2 separate regions of the Homo sapiens genome follow, and region 1 is linked to region 2. Evidence: promoter capture Hi-C in human tissues and cell types (Jung and others, 2019). All regions are on one chromosome and are shown on one strand. Each heading gives the region's core, a stretch centred on a gene start or on the middle of the fragment in contact. The rest is flanking DNA. Distances are from core to core; before and after follow the strand shown. Region 1 overlaps LOC107986129 (a long non-coding RNA gene). Region 2 holds the start of KBTBD12 (kelch repeat and BTB domain containing 12).

What was found. The method cuts DNA at HindIII sites, captures the fragments that hold promoters and counts their contacts. A contact is called where the count stands out against the background at its distance.
Region 1: a contact is called between a fragment that was not itself captured here and the fragment with the promoter of KBTBD12 in region 2, in 1 of the 25 tissues and cell types used here (small bowel).

What each region holds. Positions count from the first base shown.
Region 1 is chr3:127,871,845-127,879,133 of GRCh38, forward strand. The region is part of intron 3 of LOC107986129 (a long non-coding RNA gene); the gene reads right to left. Among named protein-coding and RNA genes, the nearest start is that of KBTBD12, 40 kb to the right of the region's middle. The HindIII fragment of the contact is 8,894 bases long and covers 1-7,289 here.
Region 2 is chr3:127,912,854-127,919,344 of GRCh38, forward strand. KBTBD12 (kelch repeat and BTB domain containing 12) reads left to right here and starts at 2,379. Exons shown (of 6, transcript NM_207335.4): 1 at 2,379-2,733. It overlaps LOC107986129 (a long non-coding RNA gene), which reads right to left. Exons shown (of 5, transcript XR_001740896.2): 3 at 5,352-5,388. LOC124909427 (a long non-coding RNA gene) reads left to right here. Exons shown (of 2, transcript XR_007096071.1): 2 at 1,493-1,813. The HindIII fragment of the contact is 11,252 bases long and covers 400-6,491 here.

The DNA of each region.
Region 1 (7,289 bases), core at 2,934-5,433, 39 kb before region 2:
CTGTTGTGTGGATGCTGTGGGTGCATGTGGGTAGGTATTGTTTGTTACCTGTTTGAGTTGTATCCTGTAGACCAGGTCTTACTTGAAGGATAACACAATTTATTGAGTCAGTTACAGAAGTTCTGCCTGTCACCCATGGACTGAGAAAAGTCTGTCAATTCAGAAAGAAGACCAAGTAGAAAGGTCTTAGAGAGGCAGATAAATAAGAATCACTGTCTTGGCCAGGCTCAACATGGGAGTCTCATTTTGTTTAACCTGGGAAACCTGAGAAACATAGTGAGACCCCATTTCTACCAAAAAAAAAAAAAAGCCAGGTATCTCACACCTGTAGTCCCAGCTACTCAGGAGGCTGAAGCAGGAGGATCACCTGAGCCCAGGAGTTCAAGGCTGTAGTGGGCTACAGTTGCACAACTGCACTCCAGCCTGGGCAACAGAGTGAGACCCTGTCTCAAAAAAAAAACGACAAAAAAATTCCAAATTATGCTTTTATGCTTTCTGTTAACTGCAGCCAATAGAATCTAATGATACATTTTTCATAATACATTTTTTTTTGAGACAGAATCTCTCTCTGTTGCTCAGGCTAGAGTGCAGTGACATGATCTCAGCTCACTGCAACCTCCGCCTCCAGGGTTCAAGCAATTCTCCTGCCTCAGCCTCCAGAGTACTTGGGATTACAGGCGCCCACTACCACGTTTGGCTAATTTTTGTATTTTTAGTAGAGACAGGGTTTCATCATGTTGGTCAGACTGGTCTCGAACTCCTGACCTCAGGTGATCCACCTGCCTTAGCCTCCCAAAGTGCTGGGATTACAGGCATGAGCCACCACACCTGGCCACATTTTATATATATATTCACCCTAAGTATACTCAGACTTAGTGGTTTTGGATACTGTGATTCAAATAAATTTGCAGAAGTTAGTGCAAACATAAGTTAGGAACTTTGTATTATAGTTTTTACCAAATAAACTCCAGCTGTGGTATTATCACAGGCATGGAACTGGCATGTTAAGCTGCATGCTGCTGGCCTAGATGAGCTGTCACTATTTGTTTCTGACCCTCCATTCATTCATTTGTCAAGCAAATATTGGATGAGCACCTATTATGAGCAAGGCACTGTTCTAGGCTTTGAGGATATAAGACTGAATGGCATGAACACAAATCCCTGCCCTCACAAGATAATCCACTTCTTATTGATTTGCTCTATGCTCACCGACGACTCTGGATTTCTAATTCAGTTTCTTAGTGTTTGTTGAGAGCAAAACTAGGGTGTCAGGCCCTGAGAAGGCATGGACCCCATTGGAGATTACTGATTTACACAAAAGGCTCTGGGCAGTTTGATTCACGTGGCTTGGCCCAGGAGACTCTGTGTGCATTGGTAACATTCTACCATGGAGCCTTCAGAGCCCAGGAGCAGCCTTGCCCCCGGGAGACCATGACAACAAAACATCTCTTGCACATCCTGACCTTGATCAGCTTTAGTTGGCGTTATTATGAAAACCCAAATTCAGGGAAAATTGACCAATACTGGGACCTTGGCTTAGCACGTGTGCTTATTGATGCTTACATAAATGATTAGATTGTCTGCCATCACTGCTCCAATCCAGAACTTGGCCTGGAATTAGACACTACTTGAATAGGATGAGAGAAATGGTCTCAAAGGAAACTGTTCTCAATGTTAGTTAGGGAGCAACAATAATAAGAAATAACTTCTCTTGTTTTTCCCAGGTGTTCAGGCCTATTCTAAGAGCCTTAGATGCCTTTGCAACATCACGTCTCTAAAAGATGGGAACCATCACTATCGCCATTTTGCAGAAGAGACTAAAGATTAAGTGAATTGCCCAAGATTACCTGGCTGGTAGTCCCTGGTCTTTTTCTACAGCTTACAAAATCATTTATCTCACACTTCAAGAAGAAATGCTATGTTAGCAGGCAGCCATGAATTTGGGAATTCTGGACAATTGTGTAGAATACTTTTGTGAAGTAAGGATTGTAGTCTGAATCAGTTAGGAAAACAGTGGCTTAGAAGAGACAAGGGGGCAGGGGGCAGTGGCTCACGCCTGTAATACCAGCACTTTGGGAGGCCGAGGCGGGTGGATCACCTGAGTTTAGGAGTTAGAGACCAGCCTGACCAACATGGTGAAACCCCATCTCTACTAAAAATACAAAAAATTAGCCAGGCATGGTGGTGGGCGCCTATAACCCCAGCTACTCAGGTGGCTGGAGCAGGAGAATCGCTTGAACACGAGAGGTGGAGGTTGCAGTGAGTCAAGATGGCGCCATTGCACTCCAGCCTGGGTGAGAAGAATGAGACTTTGTCTCAAAAAAAAAAGACAAGGGTGCATTTCCCCCAGCCTGCCAGAAGCAGTCCAGGGCTGGCATAACAGCTCTGCAATGCCACTGAGAACTCTATGGTCTTTCGGGTGTGATCCATACCCTTACACATCTAAGATAGCTACTGGGAGTGGCAACAGGAGGAAGAAGTCTGGCTGAGTCATCCCCTTTGTATTTTTTATTTTTCTGAGACGGAGTCTTGCTCTGTCCCCCAGGCTGGAGTGCAGTGTCATGATCTCAGCTCACTGCAACCTTTGCCTCCCAGGTTCAAGTGATTCTGTTGCCTCAGCCTCCCGAGTAGCTGGGACTACAGGTGTGCGCCACCACACCCAGCTAATTTTTGTATTTTTAGTAGAGGCAGGGTTTCACCATGTTGGCGAGAATGGTTTCCATCTCTTGACCTCGTGATCTGCCCACCTTGGCCTCTTAAAGTGCTGGGATTACAGGTGTGAGCCACCATGCCTGGCCAAGTCATCCCATGTTTAAGGGACTTCTTTCCCATCCAACTTCTACTTCGAGCCCACAGACCAGATCTTAGTCACAAGGCATCTTCATCTGCAGAGGAAGCCAGGAAATACATGTCTCTGTTGGTTTGGTTTGGTTTCTATTTTTTTTTAATTTTAGTACATTGTTGCCCAGAATAAAATTAAGATCATATTAGTGAGGGACAAGTGGATAACAAATACTGGGTGGGCGAAAGCAGGATGAACCCCAGATGACCTAGAGCACTTTATGAACTTATAACAATTCCAGGTAGACATCTCCCTGCATGGCACAGCCTGGCGAGTGATGATTCCTCTGTGTGAAGCTCTCAAAGCACCCATTTCCTCCAGGTGCAGGGCCTGGAGAGGGAGCCCAGGCCCCTGCTGCCCTCTGCCAGGCCCCCTGTGTATTATGGATGAGTCGGCTTGGGCTGCTGTAACAGACAGGGAGTCTTAACCAGCAGAAATCTATTGTCTCATGATGCTGGAGGCCACAAGTCCCAGATCAAGATGTCACAGGGTTGGTTCCTTCTGGGGACTGTGAGGGAGAACCCATCCCAGGCTTTTCTCCTTGGCTTGCAGATGGCCATCTTCTCCCTGTGTCTTCACAATCATCTTTCTTTTTGGGGTGCCTGTCTCTGGGTCAAAATTTCCTCTTTGCAAAGAACATGAATCATTGGATTAGAGCCCATCCTGAGAACCTCATGTCAGCTCATCTCTGTACAGACCTTATCTCCAAGTAAAGTTACTTTCTGAAGTCCTGAGGTGGGGACTCCAACAATTCAGCTCCTGTGTGGTGCATGACCTTTACAACGGTAAGAAGCAAGCTGCTCCAGTACTGCCTATCCACAGTGTGACCCCATGGAAACCCAGACTGCCTGCTCACTTCACCCCACATTTCACATAGCCCCTGGCTCCACACTGGCCTTTGGTAATACTCAACAAACAGCTACAGATGAATGAAAATGCCAGCAAATCTGCCTAGAGAGGTGCTTGAATGGCTCCCAACAGGCTCCTCAGCCTCACTTCCTGCTGCTTCACCCTCACCCCTGTGCTTCAGCCTCCCCAGACACAGTGGCCCTGACTGAGTCTGCACTTTGCATCCCTCTGCCTGGAATACCCTCTCCCCAGAGAGCCACATGCCTCCCTCCCTCCTATCTATTTTGTGGCAGGCAAGCTGGGGAGCTGATTCAGGATTATTGGGTGGGCCCGATGTAACCATGAATCCTTGAAGACAGAAAAAGCAGAAAATCTTCCTGGCTAAGTCAGAAAGTAGACACTAATTGGAGAGAGACTGAGTCAAAGCATGAGAGGGACTCCATCCGCCATTGTCAACTTTGCAGAGGGAAGAAATGAGCCATAAGCCAGGGAACCTGGCAGCCCCTAGAATCTGGGAATGGCCTTCAGCTGACAGCCAGTAAGGAAATGGGGCTTGAGTCCTAAAATGCAAGGAATTGAATTCTGCCAACGACGCAGCGGGGCAGTAAATGGATCCTCCCCCAGAAGCCCAGAGAGGAATGCAGTCCTGCCAACACCTTGATCATGGCCGGGTAATACCCTCATTGGACTTCTGAGCTTCAGAACTGTAAGATAATATATTTGTGTTGTTTAAGCCACTAAGTTTGTGGTAATTTGTTATGGCAGCCTAAGATACTCATGTTATTCAGGTTCCTGATAAAATGTCACCTTCTTATAGAGGGTTTCCGAGACCATCGACCTGCATTTCTCCTGGTTTACTTTTCCCCACAGCCCTTGTCACTAGCTGATGTCACACTGTACACTTATCTGTGTTTTTGCTTCTCTTCTCTCTCTCCACTAGTGTGAGCTCCAGAAGGATGAGATATTTTGTTTTGACCCCTTGTAGGCATTTAATAATTATTTGTTGAATGAAAGAATACCATAAACAGGGTTTAATTTTGTCAGCTGCTTTCTCTATTTAGATAATCATTTGGGTTTTTTCCTTATTTCTGTTAACATAGTGAATTGATTTACAAAGATTAAATCAACTTTGCATTTCTAAGATAAACCCCACTTGGTTATGATATATAATCCTTTTCATATATTTCCGGATTTGATTTTGCTAATAGTTTGTTTAGGAATTTTGCCTCTATGTTCATGAGACGTAGATGACATGTCGGTTTTTTGTTTTGTTTTGTTTTTGTTTTGTAATGTCCTTGTCAGATTTTGGTATCTGAGTTATAGGAGACTCACAAAATGAATTGGAAAGTGTCATCTCTTCCTCTTTTATCTAAGAGTTATGCAAGCTTGGTATATATTTCTTTTCTTTAAAAGATTGGTTGAATTCACCAATGAAGCTATCTGTGCCTAAGTTTTCTTTGTGGGAAGGTCTTAAATTATAGATTTAATTTCTTTAGCAAATATGACTACTCAGATTTTTTTTTACTTCTGTCAGATTTATGCAGTTGTGTTTTTCAAAGGATTTTCTCCATTTCCAATACATTCATGATATTCCCTTGTTATCCTTTTAATATCTTTAAGATCTGCAGTGATGCCCCCCTTTTCATTGGAGATGTTGGTAATTGATAATTTGATTTGTTTGTTTCTCCCTTAATCTCTCTCTCTCTCTATCATGTTATGAGGGAATTTATCAATTATATTAGTCATTTCAAAGAACTTTTGTTTCTGTTGATTTTCTCTATTGTTTGTCTTTTTTTCATTTCATTGACTTCTGCCCTCATCTTCCCTTTCTTTTCTTTTCTTTTTTTTTTTTTTTTTTTTTTTTTTTGAGACAGAGTCTTGCTCTGTTGCCCAGGTTGCAGTGCAATGGCACTATCCCAGCTCAGTGTAACCTCTGCCTCCTGGGTTCAAGCAATTCTCCCTGCCTCAGCCTCCCGAGTAGCTGGGATTACAGGTGCCTGCCACCATGCCTGGCTAAGTTTTGTATTTTTAGTAGGGATGGGGTTTCACCATGTTGGCCAGGCTGATCTCGGACTCCTGACTTCAGGTGATCCACCCACCTCGGCCTCCCAAAGTGCTGGGGTTACAGGCGTGAGCCACTACACCCGGCCCTTTATTTTCTTCTTTCAACTTTTCCGTGGTTTAGCTTGTTCCTCTCTTTCTAGCTTCTTGGGGGTATAACTGAATTACTGGCTTTAAATCTTCCTTCTTTTTAAATATATATATATTTTTATATATAAAAATTATATGTATATATTTATATATATTATATATATAAACATATATAATATATAAAAATATATAATATATATATTATTATATATAATATATATTTATATATATATTATAAAAATATTATTATATATAATATATATTTATATATATATTATAAAATATATATAATATATAAATATATATATATATTTTTAAAGAGACAAGGTCACGCTCTGTTGCCTAGGCTAGACAGCAGTGGCATGATCATGACTCACTGCAGCCTCAAACTGTTGGGCTCAAATGATCCTCCTGCCTTAGCCTTCTGAGTAGCTAGGACCACAGGCATGTACCACTGTGCCAACTAATTTCTTTTTTTTTTTTTTTGGTAGAGACAGGGTGTCACTATGTTGCCCAGGCTGGTCTTGAACTCCTGGACTCAAGAGATCCTCCCACCTTAGCCTCCTAAAGCCCTGGGATTACAAGCATGAGCCATCCTAAATTTTTTTATTTGTTGTATTTTCGTTATCATTCAGTTAAAAACGTTTTCTAATGTCTCTTGTGATTTCTTCTTAAACCCATATATTATGTAGATTCATTTCTAAACAGTTGGAGCTTATCTGATAATCTTTTTGTCATTGACTTCCAGCTTGGTTCCCATGTGGTTAAGAAACACACTCTGTTTGATTTTAAACTTTTGACATTTATCCAAAATTATTTATGGTCCACAATATGATCTATTCTGGTGATGTTTCATATCCATTTGAAAAGAATACATATTCTTCAGTTGTTGGGTATAATGTTCTCAAATTTTGACCAATTAGTTCAAATTGGTTTATAGTGTGGTTCAAATCTTATATATCTTTATCCATTTTTTGTCTGCTTATTATTCTATCAGTTATTGAAAGAGAAATGGCATAATGTGAATTTGACTTTTTTAAAATCTTAGTTCTATAAATTACTGAGGCATACAGGGTGAATACACTTTAGGACAGTTAACACTTCCTGAAGAATTAACCCTTTATCATTATTCTTTATCATAAGGATGAAAAGCACACCCTTCTCCCTGGAAATATTAATGTAGGTCATCAGCTATATCAGTATAGCAATGATATTAATATAGCTGCATCTGCTTTCTTATACTGTTTCTTTTTCCATTATTTTACTTTTAACCTTTCTGTATCCTTATATTTAAAGATAGTCTCTTGTAAACATTATAGGGTCAAGTTTTCTTTTTTCTGTCCAAACAAACTCTCTTGTTTCATTGGTGTGTTTATTCCATTTACGTTTTGAACTACTCATATGGTTGGGTGTAAGTCTGCCATCTTTCTGTTTTGTTTCCACTTGT
Region 2 (6,491 bases), core at 1,129-3,628:
AAAATTTAGCCAGGCATGGTGGCACACACCTGTAATCCCAGCTATTTGGGAGACTGAAGTGGGAGGTTCACTTAAGCCCAGGAGTTCGAGGCTGAAGTGAGCTATGATTGCACCACTGCACTCAAGCCTAGATGACAAAGTGAGACCCTGTCTCTAAAAAAGGAAAAAAAAAAAAAAAGTAAGTGTAAATACGAATGCATGCAAGCATTCTTCATTGACATGAATACCTTCTAAAATGTTTAAAGGGACTTTACTTACCATATAAAATCTGTTTTGTTTTCAATGTGGTATATAAAGGCACACATATACACAGAAAAATATTATTCAGCCTTAAGAAAAGAAAGGACATTATACTCAGTTAAATAAGCCAGTTACAAAAGGAGAAATTCTGGCCAGGAGCGGTGGGTTACTCCTGTAATCCCAGCACTTTGGGAAGCTGAGGCGAGTGGATCACCTGAGGTCAGGAGTTTCAGACCAGCCTGAGCAACATGGTGAAACCTCGTCTCTGCTAAAAATACAAAAATTAGCTGGGCGTGGTGGAGCACGACTGTAATCCCAGCTACTTGGGAGGCTGAGGTAGGTGAATCACTTGAACGGGGGAGGCAGAGGTTGTAGTGAGCTGAGATCGCACCACTGAACACCAGCCTGGGCGACAGAGCAAGACTCCGTCCCCATCCCCCTCCCCCAAAAAAGGACTAATTCTGTATGATTTTGCTCATATAAGGCACCTAGAATAGGCAAATTCGTAGAGGCAAAAAGTAGAATAGTGGTTACCAGGTGCTAAAGGGGAGGGAGAAATAAGTTATTGTTTAAGGAGTACCAAGTTTCTTTTGAGAGGATGAAAAAATTCTGGAAATGGATACTGGATATGGTTGTACAACATTATTAACATAATGCCACTGACTATGCTTAAAAATGATTAAAATGATAAATGTTATGTTATGTATATTTTACCACAATAAAAAAAAAGGAAGAGGTGGGCAGAAGAGTTAGTGTCAAAGTGATGCTGAGAGGTGAAGCCAGCTGCACTTCTGGGTTGGGTGGGGACTTGGAGAACTTTTCTGTCTTACAAGAGGATTGTAAAATGCACCAATCAGCACTCTGCAGCTAGGATTGTAAAACGCACCAATCAGCGCTCTGTGGCTAGCTAGAGGTTTCTAAAATGGGCCAATCAGCACTCTGTAAAAACACACCAATCAGCTCTCTGTGGCTAGCTAGAGGTTTGTAAAATGGACCAATCAGCACTCTGTAAAATGGACCAATCAGCACACTGTAAAATGGACCAATCAGCACTTGGTAAAATGGACCAATCAGCAGGACATGGGCAGGGACAAATAAGGGAATAAAAGCTGGCCACCCAGTCAACACAGGGAACCCAGTCAGGTCCATTTCTAGGTTGTGGAAGCATTGTTCTTTTGCTCTTCACAATAAATTTTGCTGCTCCTCACTGTTTGGGTCCATGTGACCTTTAAAGCTTTCTTTAACATTTAAGGTCCGTGGCTTCATTCTTGAAGTTAGCGAGATGGAGACCACAAGCCCACTGAAAGGAACCAACTGCAGACACAATGCATGTGAGAAAGACTCAGCCCTATTTTCTGGCTTTGAAGCTGGAGGAAGGAGCCAGGAGCAAAAGAATGAAGACAGTTTCCAGAAGCTGCAAAAGGGCAGGGACAGATTCACTCCAGGAAGCCCCAGAAACAAACACAGTCCTGCTGACACCTTGATTTCAATCCAGTGAGACATATTTTGGACTTCTGACCTACAGAGCTAAAATAATAGTAAGATAATAAAGTTATGTTGCCACCACTGAAAACAGTTTTATTTTGCTTTGGTTTAAGCTAACTGAGCTAATACAGCTGCCGTATTTTATGACACTTGCCTAAGGAAGACTTCCCATCCCTGCACTGCTCCCGGCTAACCAGTCCTTTCTCGGGACTCCTGGAAACCTCCCACTCTCAGAGAGGTGTAGGGTATAAAAATCACAAGCTGATGGCTCAGGATGTAGCAAATAAAAATACAAGACCAAAACGAAACCCAACCGGAACACCGAGTTAAACGTGAATTGACCATGCGATATTTGGGACATACTTAACACTAAAAATTACTGGTTGTGTATCTGAAATTTACCTTTAACTGGGCTCATGTATTTTACCGGGCAACCCTACCCCCCGGTCACAGTGAGACTACACACGGGGTCTTTTGGTCATTTTGCAAGTGTAAAAGACTAACGGGAACACCGGCATTTTTCAAAGCTCGATTTCCAAACCTCCTTTAAACACTTGTCCCCATCCCCTCCCCGCAGGCCTTCAGTCGCTCTGGCACGCGGGCCAGCGCGGGAACACTCTGCGCAGGCGCACAGCGTTCCGCGGGGGACGCTCAGTAGGGTACGGGACGCGCGCGGGGAGACCCTGTGCAGCGACACCGGGGCTGTAGTCGCCGTCTGGAACCAGCGCGGGAATAGGTGCGCAGGCGCACAGTGGCTGGAGGGCAGCGGCGGCGTGGTCTCGGGCCACTTCCAAGCAGAGGGCAGCACCTGTCCCCTCGGAGGCGCTGCCAGCGCCCTCCCTCCTCCTCCGCAGGGCGCGGGACCTCTATTTATATCGCCCAGCCAGCACAGGCCCATATTGGGCAGTGGCCTCAGTCAGGCCCGCTGGCCGCCCTGCCACACGGTAGCGTCCAAGCCAGGTCGTGGCCCAGCGAGTGGGGACGCGCCCCGAACCAGGCAGCACCTTCGTAAGTAGGGGTAGCGCCCCGGGGGAACGCGGCCCCCAGTCACAAGCCCTGCCTCAACTCCGGGCCAGGTTGAACCTGGGCGCCGACCCGGGGCCACCGGCACTTGCAGCCTCGGCTCTAAGTGACTTCCTTCGAGTCGCAGTGGGCCGGCGCCTGGCGTCAGGTGGGGCTCCCAGGAGCTGCTCCTCCAGGCCATCTCTGCCGTCTCCGACCTTCACCGTCGGGTTGTTCAGGCTCGTAGTCTGCATAGTATTATCATCCTCCGAATTACCTGACCAATGTATTATTGTGCCTTCCGTCGCTAGACTGTAAGCACAACAAAGGTAAGGGGCACTTCCCTGTTCCTGGTTGTCTTCCCGGAACCTAGGATAGTGCCTGGCACTTAGAAGGGTTCGTTTAAGTTTAATAAACCCTGAATGTATCCCTGAGCAACTCTCTTAACTTTAAAGCCAGGAGAATAATTGCCCTACATTTTCCCCCAAATGATTCTTAAGAGGAACTAATGAGCTATAATGCGGATTAAAGCACTTTGAAAAGTATAAAGCACTGTGAGAATGCAAAACAGTGTGAACTCGGCAAAGAAAAGAAAAGAAAACTGGTCTTATTTGTCTTTATCATCCATGTGCCTGGCTGTTACTGGATGCCCGGTGTGTGGGATGGATTATTATGAAATGAATCAGGTCTTTTTCCATGCTAGTGAGAAGCACAGAGTACATTTAGGGTGGTGCGTGTGTTCTCAGCCATTTCCTACCAGCCTCTGCAAGCGTAGGATTTTAGCAAGATGGTGTTGCTGAAACAAAATAGGGTGTGGAGACGTAATCGTATAAACTGGGGGTCACAAACTTAAATGGCTGTAGGATAATGTAAATGGACAGGAAAGAGAAAAGCAACAGCGTAAGAATTACAAATAATGACTGTCCCTCAGGTCTCAAAGAGGATAATGGGGCCCAGCAGATGTGCCAGCTGAGAGGTGGCAGCTGGGTACTCAGGTCCTGCACATTGTTGCCGCTTGGGAATTAAGGACTCAGTGTTGCCATACCTTTCATTTTTTTCAGTAGATGCTGGAATATTTCAGCTTAGCATGTTGACAGCTAATTTACCAAAAACAAAACAAAAAGCAAAAAAAAAAAAAAAAACTGAGCAGCCAATTTGTAATCTCAGGCGTAAGTGAAGCCAATACATGGCTTCAGTAGTTCCTTAAGAATGGGGCCAAATCCCAGACAGCAAATGACTGGGAATTAATTTTGAGGGTGCAAGTGAAAACTGGGTGTCATAGTGCATCACGCTATAAGCAAGGGAGTCACTTCACGATTCTGAATGATTTGACTGGAACAAGAGGATAGCAACTTGAAGCATTAAGCGTTGGCGAGTGGGAAAAAACACAGAACTGTTTGTCTGCTGCTCTCACACAATGAACACAGAAAATGTCTGTAACCTCTGCTAACCAAGAGGTATGTGGAGACTTCTCCCCATCAGCAACCAATCACTTAGTTCTGCAGCAGACAGCAGCTTGGGTGTCCTCTAACTCAGTGCAATTCTGACACCATCTACCTGGAGACAGCGTCAGATCCCACAGGCTGAGAGCTCAGTCCCACAGGGCTACCACTATCTTCAGACACTAGTCCCAGCATCCAGAGCTTCTGACTGACCCATCTCAAGTTGGGGTTCCCTCTTTGGGTTTAATTTGCTAGGGCAGCTCACAGAATTCAGAAGAACGCTTAAGTTTTCCGGTTTACTATAAAGGATATTAACAAGGATACAGGTGAAGCGATATATAGGATGAGATATGGGGGAAGGGGTACAGCCAGGTGCACCACACTTCGGGAACCCTCCACATGTTCAGCTATCCTGGAAGCTCTCCAAACCTTGTCCTTTTGGGGTTTTTAGGAAGGCTTCATTACATAGGCATGCTTGATTGGTGATCAACTTAACTTTCTGCTCCTCTCCCTGGAGGTCAGGGGATGGAGCTGAAAGTCCCAATGCTCTAATCCTGCCTTATTCTTTCCGGGGACCAGCTCCTATCCTGAAGCTCTAGAGGCTGCCAGCCCTCAGTCAACTCATTAGTGTACAGAAAGGTATTTATCACTTTGGAGATTCCAAGGATTTTAGGAGTTGTATGTCAGGAAAAGGGCAAACACCAAATAAATATTTTATAGTATCACAATAAATTTTATATGTAGAAAAAATCTTGAATATAATCTTTTATTATCATGTACAAAACCTAGAGAAAAGTTATCATTAACTTGTAATTTAGGACTAAACAAAGCATTAATTTAATTGAACAAACCGTATTGAGCAACTCCTGTGTGCTAAGTGTCATCACAGACAAGAATACAGAAATGGCCAGGTATGGTGGCTCAAGCATATAATCCTAGCACTTTGGGAGGCCAGGTCAGGAGGATTGCTTGAGGCCAGGAGTTTGAGACGCACCTGGGCAACACAGTAAGACCCTGTCTCTACAAAAAATAAATAAATAAATTAGGCATAGTGGTGCATGTAGTGGTGCAGCTACAGGGGAGGCTGAGGTCCCAGCCTGGGCAACAGGGCAAGACCCTGTCTCTAAAATAAATAAGTAAACATTTTCAAGAATACAGAAGTGACGAAGACAAGTCCCTTACCCGCAGTGTGCTCATCATTGACAGGAGAGGCAAGCATCTGCAAAAGTGAATGGCAATAGCAGTGCAGCAACCACAGTGTACACAACACAGGCAAGAAAGCAAAGGGATGCGTCAGTGAGGAAGTGATATCTGAGCTGAATTTTGAAGACCAGGTTATATTTTTTCAGGTAGATGGGGGAGATATTTCTGACACAGATTTACACGTGTAAAGACAGAACAGCATGTTAGCCAGGCGCGGTGGCTCACGCCTGTAATCCCAGCACTTTGGGAGGCCGAGGCGGGCAGATCACGAGGTCAGCAGATTGAGACCATCCTGGCTAACACGGTGAAACCCCGTCTCTACTACAAATACAAAAAATTAGCTGGGGGTGGTGGCGGGCGCCTGTAGTCCCAGCTACTCAGGAGGCTGAGGCAGGAGAATGCCGTGAACCCAGGAGGCTGAGCTTGCAGTGAGCCGAGGTCGCGCCACTGCACTCAAGCCTGGGCGACAGAGCGAGACTCCGTCTCAAAAAAAAAAAAAAGAAAAAGAAAAGAGAACAGCGTGTTAAAGGCCCATATGCGTTAGAACTGTAGTAGTTTGGTACTACTCAAAGATTGAAAAATATAAGGAAGGAAAGTCAGGAGACGAGGCAGGAAAGTTTGGGAGGCGCCAGAATGCCTGAATGAGGGGTAGTGTTGGTGAAAACAGGCCCGGGATATTTTTGTAATGTGGGGTAATAACTTTATACACGGTAGTGACCAATGTACAAAAGGATCCCACCCTTAAAAATGGTTTTTTTTAAACAGTGAAACTGGGACATCATTTTCTGACATCATAATGTTGATGTTCCTTGGATTGCCAAGGAACAAAGTGTAAGACCCTGCTCCTGTCCTATCCACAGACTGGAATTTAGCCCTGTCCAAGTCATTTCTCTTGTCTTCAGTCTTTCCTCGATAAAAATCAGTGGGTTTGATGTTGATCAACTCTATCATGATTATAAGCTACTCACTATACTGAATTTTTTTTTTTTCCGAGACACGGTCTCGGAAATAGCAAAAATTTGGAAATAACTTAAACAGCCTGTCACCCAGGCAGGAGTGCAGTGGCACGATCTTGGCTCACTGCAACCTCTGCCTCCCAGGTTCAAGTGATTCTCCTGC